Linked DNA regions of Homo sapiens: region 2 is linked to region 1. The links are contacts of gene promoters, found by promoter capture Hi-C in blood cells and fetal thymus (Javierre and others, 2016). All regions are on one chromosome and are shown on one strand. Each heading gives the region's core, a stretch centred on a gene start or on the middle of the fragment in contact. The rest is flanking DNA. Distances are from core to core; before and after follow the strand shown.

Region 1 (5,126 bases), core at 318-2,817:
AGGAGAGAGTGCGCATCGGGAAGGTGGGGACGGCTCGACGGGACTGGCTGCAGTGAAGGAGCGCGTTCGGCTGCGGTGGCCAGGAGAGGGATTGCGTCTGCCCCCTTGGGGTACGGAAACCTGCACCGGCCTGCGCCTGTCTTCCAGCCCCCTTCCTCTTTACTCATTTCCTGCCCTCAGGGGCCGGGGTTCCCGGGTAACTTGAGTCACAGAACCTTACATTCATTCCATCCAGATCCTTGTACCCTAGCCCAATTCCTCCGGTTCCCCCAGTTCCCAGGATTCGGGCCTCAAAGGATAAGGAGGTAGGCGGGGAGTGAGGTTGGGGCTCAACCTGAGTGTGGGTGAAGCAGACTGGGATGGGAACCCCAAGATGCCCAATGGTAGAGTGGGACAGCCGACCTCCCACCATGCCCCCAGATTGATAGTTTCGGGACCCGCAGCAGGAGAGGGCCGCTGCAGGGCGTCTGGGCTTCTGGGGGCAGAGAAGACTCACGCAGTGAGCAGTCCGCAAGCCCGCTGGCGGCAGCGGCGGTGCTCCGTCCAGGGCGAGAAGCTGCAGCGCTCGGGCCGGGGTCCCTCCTGTCGCAGCAGCTCCTCGACGAGTGCAGGGGCAGCCACGTACACGGTGCGCACTGTCCCAAAGCTGGCTAGCCACACCGGCCCGAAGTGCGCGGCGCCCTGCACCTGGGGGAGCGGACACAGCGGACACTTGGATACCTGGGCGGGGACTTTCAGCTTGACCTGTGCCCACGCCAAGGGCGTTGACTGGGCTTGGGAATAGGGAGCTTCTGCTCTTTCTCGGGTGCCCAACTAGTGTATGCCTTTGATACTGCAAACTCCTCCTCTCTCATTTCCCATCCCTAGAAAGTTTGAGTGTGATGGGCAAAACCGGAACTTTGTGCAAGGCAGACATTCAGGACCTCTCTGATCATCTCGGTCGAGGAGAAATCTCTAAAAGTTCCATGTCTGGACTGTCCATCTCAGGACGAGTCCTCAGTGAATGAAAAGGAACCCATGTAGCTTTAAGCCGCAAGCAGGCGGAGGGTACTGCCCACTCCGGCCTCCCCCTCCCGCGCACTTGTACTTTATCTGCAGGATCTCCACACCTCAGGACAGCGAGAAGGCGCTTTCGCAGCGCCCTCTGCTAAGAGTCGGGACGGGCTCTGCCCGAGTGTAGCCACACCGCCCCCAGCCTCAACTCGCCTTTTCCTTATTTCATGGGCATCCGTTCTCTCTGGCTGTCCCACATTTGCTCTGCACTAGTCAGTCCTTTCTGACGCTGTCAAAACCAGTTTCCCCAGCACTCTGTCTCGGGAAAGGCGTCCCTTCCTACCTGCAGCTCGTGTAGCCTCGACAGCCCCCCCTTGCAGAAAAGTTCGGCCAGAAAGCTGGGCGTAGAGGGGCCTGGGATGTCTGCCAAGCTCCGGCGTGCTGAGTGGTACTCTCGGTAGCCTAGGGAGGCGCCCAACTCGGGCGCCCAGCGGACGCGATGGAACACTCTGGAGGCGTACTTGAGGGTCTGGGTCATGGTCTGGTTCAGGGTGCTCGCGAAAGAAAGCGCTTCTCCTGAGCATCATATCTCAACCCCTATTTAACCTTTGGGTGAGGTGATGACGCCCCCTCTCCAAGCTCCTCAGCCAATCCCTCCTCCTGAGTGGTCTGTGCTGGGGATTAGCACCCAGGAACAGTAGGCGGGGCTGGGGCTGACTTCACAACTCCCTTGGGTCTCATGTTGCAATGACCCTCATGGGAGGGAGGGCCTAAGATTTTCCTCCTGGGAGAGTGCCTTTGTCTAGGAGCCTCAAAGTCTCATCCTAGGAAAGGCTATAAGGCTTTTTAGTAGGGACTAGGTGACCAAGCTACACTAGTCAGTCTCTGATATTCCCACTTCTACCAGTGAGCCCAGCCCCTTTAGGCCCATCCTCAGGAATTCCCCATCTTTCAGCTCCTCCAGGAAGGGAAGCAGGGGAGGCACAGCTGTAACTGTCCCCACATTCTTGGCTTAGTGGGTTGTATCTTCTCTGCATTATTTTCCTGCACTAGCCACACCTCCCCCTCCTCCTGTACCTAACATATACTGGGCAGATGGCAGGTGGGTTAATGGGCTAAAATGGCTCCTAGAACCTCCATCTTTCTTTCTTGAGGATAAGGGGGTCTCTTGGGTATACAAGCCCCCTCCTTCCAGACATGGGAATTTGGGGCTTGAGAAGCAGAAATGAAACTTTTTGTACATTAGTTAAGTTCAGAGATTGTCTGTGGGGTGTTAGAGGAGCTAAATGGATGTGGATGTTCTAATTCCCCAGCTGACTCGGTCTCCTCTGGGGGGCTTTCTGGTTAGCAGCTCCTTTCTACTTTTAGCCTCAGAATCCTGTGGTGGCTCATGCCTATAATCCCAGCACTTTGGGAGGCTGAGGCAGGAGGATGGCATGAGGCCAGGAGGTTGAGACAAGCTTGAGCAACATAGCAAGACTGTCTCTACAGAAGAAGTTTAAAAATTAGGCTGGGCACGGCAGCTCATGACTGTAATCCCAACACTTTGGGAGGCTAAGGTGGGCAGACTGCTTGAGCTCAGGAGTCTGAGACCAGCCTGGGCAACATAGTGGAACTGTCTCTACAAAAAATACAAAAATTAGCCAGGCATGGTGGCGTATGCCTGTAGTGCCTTGAGAGGCTGAGGTGGATTACATGAGCCCGGGAGGTCAAGGCTGCAGTGAGTTATGATTGTACCACTGCACTCCAGCCTAGGCAACAGAGAGAGGGCCTGTCTCTAAAAAAAATTAAAATAAAAGAATCTCCCACAGTTTACCTCTCTGCTCCTTACTCCCTCATTCCCCACTGCAACTCTATCAGGCTCTGTGCCAGTCAGCTAGCTCTGAAGTTCTGGAATTGAAGGTCAATGTGAAAAAGGAGAGGGTCTCCACCCCCACACCTTCCCAAGGACTCTCCAGAGACAACACTTAGGGAACACAGATTCCCCAGGTCAAGTCTTACGCAGGGAGAGGACAGGAGGATGGTAGAAGGCATATGATACATACTCCACCCTTTCCTGAGAAATGGCAGAATAGGCATGTGTACACATATACATGTTATCCCAGGATCCACAAAGCAAACAGAAGTGGTAATTGAGCCTAGCAAGCAGTTTAGATGGACTACATTCCTCATTCCAGCTGAGGAGAGATCTCACAAGGAGAAAGGAGTGCTAAGGAAGAGCAAGACCCCACAGCCTTCCAAAGATCCCCTATGGTCCAAAGTCCTTTGACCATCTCAGTCAGCTGCTTTGTTTTCTGTTGGCAGTGGAGGGACAAGGTGAGAGGAGCCAGGGGTAGTCATGAACACCAGTGGGTTCTGCCCTGGGCAGCTCCCCACCTTCTTTAAGAGAGTACTGTGTCTCAGCTCCAGCAGTCTCAACTGGGAAGACCCAGGACTCCTGCTCTTTTCTCTAATCCCTGGGAGACGAGGTCCAGCTAAGGTAGAGTAAGCAGTCAGTGACCAGGCAGGCTGGTTTGGGAGGTCACTGCCTGGAGGACGGGATCTTGTATTCTTCGGAAGATGGCTGGGAAATTCTTCCCTCCATTACGTAGAACTTTCTTCCCCTCCTCAGTTGAGGTGCCTAGATGTCCCACAACGGGGTCTTCACTCTGGGAGAAGGAAGGGTCCAATAAGTCCTTGCCCACTGTTCAGACTGCCCCTGGCCCTTAGACACCTATCCCATCCTCCTGGCACTGAGTTAAGTCCAAATACAGAACCACTCTGGAAAGGGCCTCCACCTCCTCTAGGTCCCCTACTCACCAGGTCCTCCAGAGGCACACGCTCAAACAGTGGGTGCTCTTCGAAATGAGTGCACATCCAGTCGTGTAGCTCCAGCACATCGGTTATGGTATACACCAGCCCCTGCATAGGCAAAATCACCCTAGACAGGAGGCTGCATGCAACGTCAGCAGCCAGATGAAGGAAGTGGTGGTGTGAGTCCCTAAATGCACCCCCACTGAATTCTTAGTGAAGGGCCCCTGAGTAGGCCACTCACCCCATCATCCCTCCGATCCCAACTCACCCCAACTCTTAGCACGTAGGCATATTCTGCTAGCAGGGTGGGACTGATGATTCGCCACTTGTGCTTTGTCCGCTTGAAATGTGGGTCGGGGAAGAGGAAGAACATCTTTGTCAGCTGTGAGACAGACACACACCAACAGGGTTGTGAGAGCCTGGCCTCCATGCCCCCACCTGCCTACCAGCCTAACCCACCAGGGCCCCTCCCCACCTGGCCCTTGTAGAAGAAGTTAGGAAGGTGCTTCATGGCATTGCTACGGAGACAGGCGATGTTCTGGAAGCCACCTGCAGGAGCTGCGCGTAGGGCCCGAATCCGGTCTTGTACATAGTCTGAGACCTTCACCCGGATCTCCAGACCCAGAATAAGTGTGTCTGGGAACAGCGGTGACAGTTCCACTGCACACAGAAATAGCAATGGAATCATCAACCATATACTTGTAGGAAGTGCAAAGGGGTCAACACAGGAAAGGAAGCCTCAACCTGCAACTACCAAAGTCCAGAACGGCAAGAGAGGACAGAGATACATATATGGATAGTTTTATGCTCAAGAGGCGGGGGGAGAAATGAAAATTGTCACCAGGACCAGAATGGGAGGGCTGAGGATACATGTATATTTGCCATTGCTTTAGAGTTTTCCACAGTGTTTTCACACATTGTGTTATTTCATCCTTATAACACTCTGTGGTAAATTGTGAAGATAAGGAAACTGAGGGTCAGATATGCCGAAGATCATAGAGTTAAGAAGGGGCAGAACTGGAACTTATTTATTTGAGATGGAGTCTTGCTCTGTCACCCAGGCTGGAGTGCAGTGGCACAATCTTGGCTCACTGCAATCTCTGCCTCCCAGGTTCAAGTAATTCTCCTGCCTCAGCCTCCTGAGTAGCTGGTCTTGAACTCCTGGCCTCAAGTGGTCCACCTGCCTCAGCCTCCCAAAGTGTTGGGATTACAGGTGTGAGCCACTGTGCCCAGGCAGAACTGGACCTTAAACCAAGGTTTTCTGCCTCTATGTACCATGCTCTTCTTCTCTATCAGGCTGTTATCTGTTTGGGAAGATCTAAAAATAGGGAGTGGCTTGG
Region 2 (5,126 bases), core at 1,508-4,007, 63 kb before region 1:
CTTATAAAGTAAGATTCTAGAGATATCAAAGATTTTTTTAAGTTATAAAACATACAATTATACAAAAAAAAATGTCATAGAGACCCATAAATTCACTGCCAAGTTAAACAGATGTTAATGTTTTGCCTGATTTGTTTCAGATCTCTGGTTTAAAAAAAGGAATAAAATGCTTGTGCTAATAGCTAAAGCCCACCTTCATATTTAGTCACTCTCCCTCCCGCCAGAAACAACCACAACCCTCACTATGTTTGTTTTGTATTTTTATTACTGATATATATATTACAGACAATAGATAGTGTTTTGTGTTTTAAAATTATACATCAGGAGTATCAACTTGTTTTTTTCACTGATCAGTGTGTTTGCCATTCAATGGCATGACATGGAACTCTGGTTGAGTGATTTTTTTTTTTTTTTTTTTTTTTTTTTTTTTGAGACAGAGTCTCGCTCTGTCACCCAGGCTGGAATACAGTAGTGCAATCTAGGCTCACTGCAACCTCGGCCTCCTGGGTTCAAGCGATTCTGCTGCCTCAGCCTCCTGAGTAGCTGGGACTATAGGTGCCCACCACCACGCCCAGTTAATTTTTATATTTTTAGTAGGGAAGGGGTTTCACCATGTTGGCCAGGCTGGTCTTGAACTCCTGACCTCAAGTGATCCACCCACCTTGGCCTCCCAAAGTGCTGGGATTACAGGTGTGAGCCACCGTGCCTGGCCTGGTTGAGTGATTTTAATGTCTGTATTGTGTTTCATTGCTTACTTACCCATTCCTCTGTTGATAAACAGTTGGGTTTCAACTCTAATGCCCTTATACACAGTGCTGCAATGTAGGTCTTATTGTGAGTGTACAAGAATTTCTCCAGGGAAATACCTAGAAAGTAGAATCACTGGGTTACAGGAGTGTATGTTATTGGTGAATTCAATTTTTTGTTTGTTTTGTTTTGTTTTGTTTTTTGAGATAGAGTTTCACTCTTGTTGCCCAGGCTGGAGTGCAATGGCGTGATCTTGGCTCACTGCAACCTCCGCCTCCCAGGATCAAGCGATTGTCCTGCCTCAGCCTCCTGAGTAGCTGGGACTACAGGCGCCTGCCACCATGCCCAGCTAATTTTTGTATTTTTAGTGGAGACGGGGTTTCACCATGTTGGCCAGGCTGGTCTTGAACTCCTTACATTGTGATCCGTCCACCTTGGCCTCCCAAAGTGCTGGGATTACAGGTGTGAGCCACCATGCCTGGCCCTCAATTTTTTTAATGATTGAAAAAATATATAACCTAAAAGTTATCATTCTAACAGTCTTTAAGTGTACAATTCAGTGGAAACATTCAGTGTTCTATCACCATCACTACTATTTCCAAAACTTTTTTCATCATCCCAAACAAAAATAACTCCTATTTCTCCCTCTCCCAGACTCTGTTCTACTTTCTGTCTGTATGAGTTTCCTGTTCTAGGTACTTCACATGAGTGAAATCATACAAGATTTGTCCTTTTGTGTCTGGCTTATTTCACTTAGCATGGTGTTTTCAAGGTTCATCCATGTTGTAGCATATATCAGAATTTTATTTCTTTTTATGGCTTAATCATGTTCCATTGTCTGTATATACATTTTGTTTACCTATTTATCAATGGATGGACAAATAGGTTTTCATCTTTTGGTTACTGTGAATAATGCTGCGATGAACATTGGTGTACAAGTATCTGTTTGAGTCCTGTTTTCAATTCTTTTGGGTCTGTACCTAGGAGTAGAATGTGCCTTATGGTAATTCTAGGTTTAGTTTTTTGAGGAACTGCCAAACTGTTTTCCATAGCAGTTGCATCATTTTACATTCCTAGTAGCAGTGCACAGGGTTCCAGTTTCTCCACACTACCTCCATCACTTATTTTCCTTTGTTTTCTTTTTCTTTTTTTTCAGTAATAGCCATCTTAATGGGTGTGAAGTAGTATCTCATAGTGGTTTTTGATTTGCATTTACCTAGTGATTAATGATGTTGAACATCTTTTCATATGCTTGGTGACCATTTGTATATCTTTTTTGGAGAAATGTCTATTCAAATCCTCTGCCCATTTTTGAATTGAGTTGGTTTTTGTTGGTGAGTTGTGAGAGTTCTTTATGTAATAAATTCTGAATATTAATCCCTTATCAGATCTATGATTTGTAAGTATTTTCTCCCATCCTGTGGTTGCCTTTTTACTATCTTTTGTTTTGCTTTGTTTTTTGGAGACAGAGTTTCACTCTTGTTGCCCAGGCTGGAGTGTAATGGCGCGATCTCAGCTCACTGCAACCTCCGCCTCCCAGGTTCAAGCGATTCTCCTGCATCAGCAGTGTCCTTTGGTGCACAAAAGCTTTTAATTTTGATTTCCAAGAGTTTTATAGTTTTAGCTCTTAAATTTAGGTCTTTGATTCATTTGAGGTTAATTTTTTTTTCTTAGAGATGGGGGTCTCGTTATGTTGCCCAGGCTAGCCTCAAACTCCTGGGCTCAGGTAAGCTTCCTACTTCAGCTTCTGAGTAGGTGGGATTATAGGGGTGTGCCATTGTGCCCAGCTGCTGATTTTGAGTTAATTTTTGTATGTGGTGTAATTTTTGCATATGGTCCAACTTCATTGTTTTGAATATGGATATCCAGTTTTCCTGGCATCGTTTGTTGAAAAGACTGTCCTTTCCCCATGGAATATTCTTGGTATCCTTACCAAAAATCAGTTGACCATATATGTGAGGGTTTATTTCTGGCCTTTCTATACTATTCCATTGGTAAATATGTCTGTCTTTTTGCCAGTATCACACTGTTTTGATTATAGTAGCTTTGTATTAAGATTTAAGTCAGGAAATGTGAGTCCTCTAACTTTGTTCTTTTTTTAATATTGTTATGGATATTTGGGATCCCTGGACATTCCATGTGAATTTTAAGATTTTTTTTTTTCTATAAAAAACACCATTGGATGCCTTTCATTTCTTTTTCATTCCTAATCACTCTAAAACTTCCAGTATTATGTTGAATAGAAATGAAAAGAATGGCTGTCCTTGTCTTGTTCCTAATCTTAAGGGAGAAGCTTTCAATGTTTCACCATTGAGTATGACGTTAACTGTGGGTTTTTCTTATATGGACTTTATCAATAACTGAAGACATTCCCTCCTATTCCTAGTTGATTGTTTTTTTACATGAAAAGGTTATTGAATTTATCAAGTCCATTTTCTGCATCAGTTGAGATGATCATTTGGGTTTTTTCCCCTTCATTCTATTAATGTATATGACATTGATTTACCTATGTTGAACCATCCTTGCATTCTTGGAGTGAATCCAACATAAATCATGATGTATAATGCTTTTAATATGCTGCTGAATTTGGTTTGCTACCATTTAGTTGAGGAATTTTGCATCTATATGTATAAAAGATATTAGTCGCCGGGAGTGGTGGCTCACACCTGTAATCCCAGCACTTTGGGAGGCCAAGGCAGGTGGATCATCTGAGGTCAGGAGTTCGAGACCAGCCTGGCCAACATGGTGAAGCCTCATCTCTACTGAAAATACAAAAATTAGCTGGGCGTGGTGGCGCACACCTGTAATCCCAGCTACTCGGGAAACCGAGACAGGAGAATCGCTTGAACCTGGGAGACGGAGGTTGCAGCAAACCAAGATTGCACCACTGCTCTCCAACCTGGGTGACAGAGCAAGACTCCATCTCCAAAAAAAAAAAGATATTAGTCTATTGTTTTCTTGTAGTATTTTGTAGTAGTATTGTCTAGCTTTGATATTATGGTAATGCCAGCCTCACAGAATAAGTTAGGAAAGCATTCTTTATAAATTTCAGATTTAATTATTTGTCACCTACATTCTTTCTATCTATACTTTGTCTTCTTGTTTTGTTTATAGTGTCTTAAATGAATTTTAATTTAAAAAATTTAAATTCCAATATAGTCAAACTTATCAGTCTTTTTCTTTATACCTTATACATCTTATGTCTTTTATTTAATCCTTTCCTATTTACTATTCATCTGTTTTTTTCAGGTTTCTAAAAAAGTAGAAAAGTGTGAATAGAGTTTCTCATACTTTGGACTACAATTCAGTAAAAATTTATCTTAATGTATGTTATAAGGTTAGGACCTAGATACACCTATTTTCCACAGTTGCCCCAGCACTGTTTATTGAATAGTCCATACATTCCTCTCTGATTTGTAATGCCTCCTCAGTTATTTACCAAGTTCTCAAATATATGTGCATTTTCTTCTTGGCTTCTCTTTTGTTCCAATAGTCTATCTATTCCTATGTCATTACCACGTTGTTTTAATTACTATAGCTTTTTCATAAATCTTGGTATCTGGTAGGATATACTCCCCTTTTTTCTTCAAAACTGTTGGGGCTATCATTGGCCAAGTTCTGTTAAAACTCCTTTTGGGGATTTTGGCTGGAATTTAATTTTAGACTGATTTGAAGAGAATTGATACTTTATAATATGAAGTCTTCATACACTATGAACGTGTTTGTTTCCATTTACTTGTTGTCCTATATTTTAGTAAAGCTTTAATTTTCTCTAAAAGTTCTTCTACATCTTATGTGAGATTAGTCTAGATACCTTATAGTTTTTATTTTTGTCTTGTTTGTGTATGCATATATTTCAAACATACAGGACCTTATAGTTTTAGATGCTATTTTAAGTAGCATCTTTTACAAATTTCATTTTCTTTATTATTATTATTTTTTGAGATGGGGTCTTGCTCTGTCATCAAGGCTGGGGTGCGATCTTGGCTCACTGCAGCCTCTGCCTCCCAGGTTCAAGTGATTCTCTGCCTCAACCTCCCGAGTAGCTGGGATTACAGGTGCGTACCACCACGCCCAGCTAATTATTGTAATTTTTTTAGAGCGGGGGTTTTGTCATATTGGCCAGGCTAGTCTCAAACTCCTGGCCTCATGTGATCCACCGTCGGCCTACTAAAGTGCTGGGATTACAGGCAATGAGCCACTGTGCCTGGCCAAAAATTCCGTTTTCTGATTGTTGCTGGTACATGGTCACATTATTGGTTTTACATATTGATCTTACACTCAGCAACTCTTTTTTGAACTCTTTCATTTTTAGTAGTTCACAAATTCTTGTGGATTTTCTGTATAGATAATTATGTCATCTGCAAGAGAAACAGTTT

The links. The method cuts DNA at HindIII sites, captures the fragments that hold promoters and counts their contacts. A CHiCAGO score of 5 or more calls a contact.
Region 2: a fragment that was not itself captured here is called in contact with the fragment with the promoter of CYP27B1 in region 1 in 1 of 17 cell types (naive B cells); the score reaches 5.0 in naive B cells.

Annotation. Positions count from the first base shown.
Region 1 is chr12:57,765,511-57,770,636 of GRCh38, forward strand. CYP27B1 (cytochrome P450 family 27 subfamily B member 1) reads right to left here and starts at 1,568. Exons shown (of 9, transcript NM_000785.4): 1 at 1,337-1,568; 2 at 497-687. The coding sequence starts at 1,531. METTL1 (methyltransferase 1, tRNA methylguanosine) reads right to left here. Exons shown (of 6, transcript NM_005371.6): 3 at 4,262-4,446; 4 at 4,055-4,168; 5 at 3,793-3,894; 6 at 2,961-3,641. The coding sequence ends at 3,486. The HindIII fragment of the contact is 11,205 bases long and covers 1-2,451 here.
Region 2 is chr12:57,700,864-57,705,989 of GRCh38, forward strand. All of the region lies in intron 5 of OS9 (OS9 endoplasmic reticulum lectin), which reads left to right. Among named protein-coding and RNA genes, the nearest start is that of OS9, 9.3 kb to the left of the region's middle. The HindIII fragment of the contact is 562 bases long and covers 2,477-3,038 here.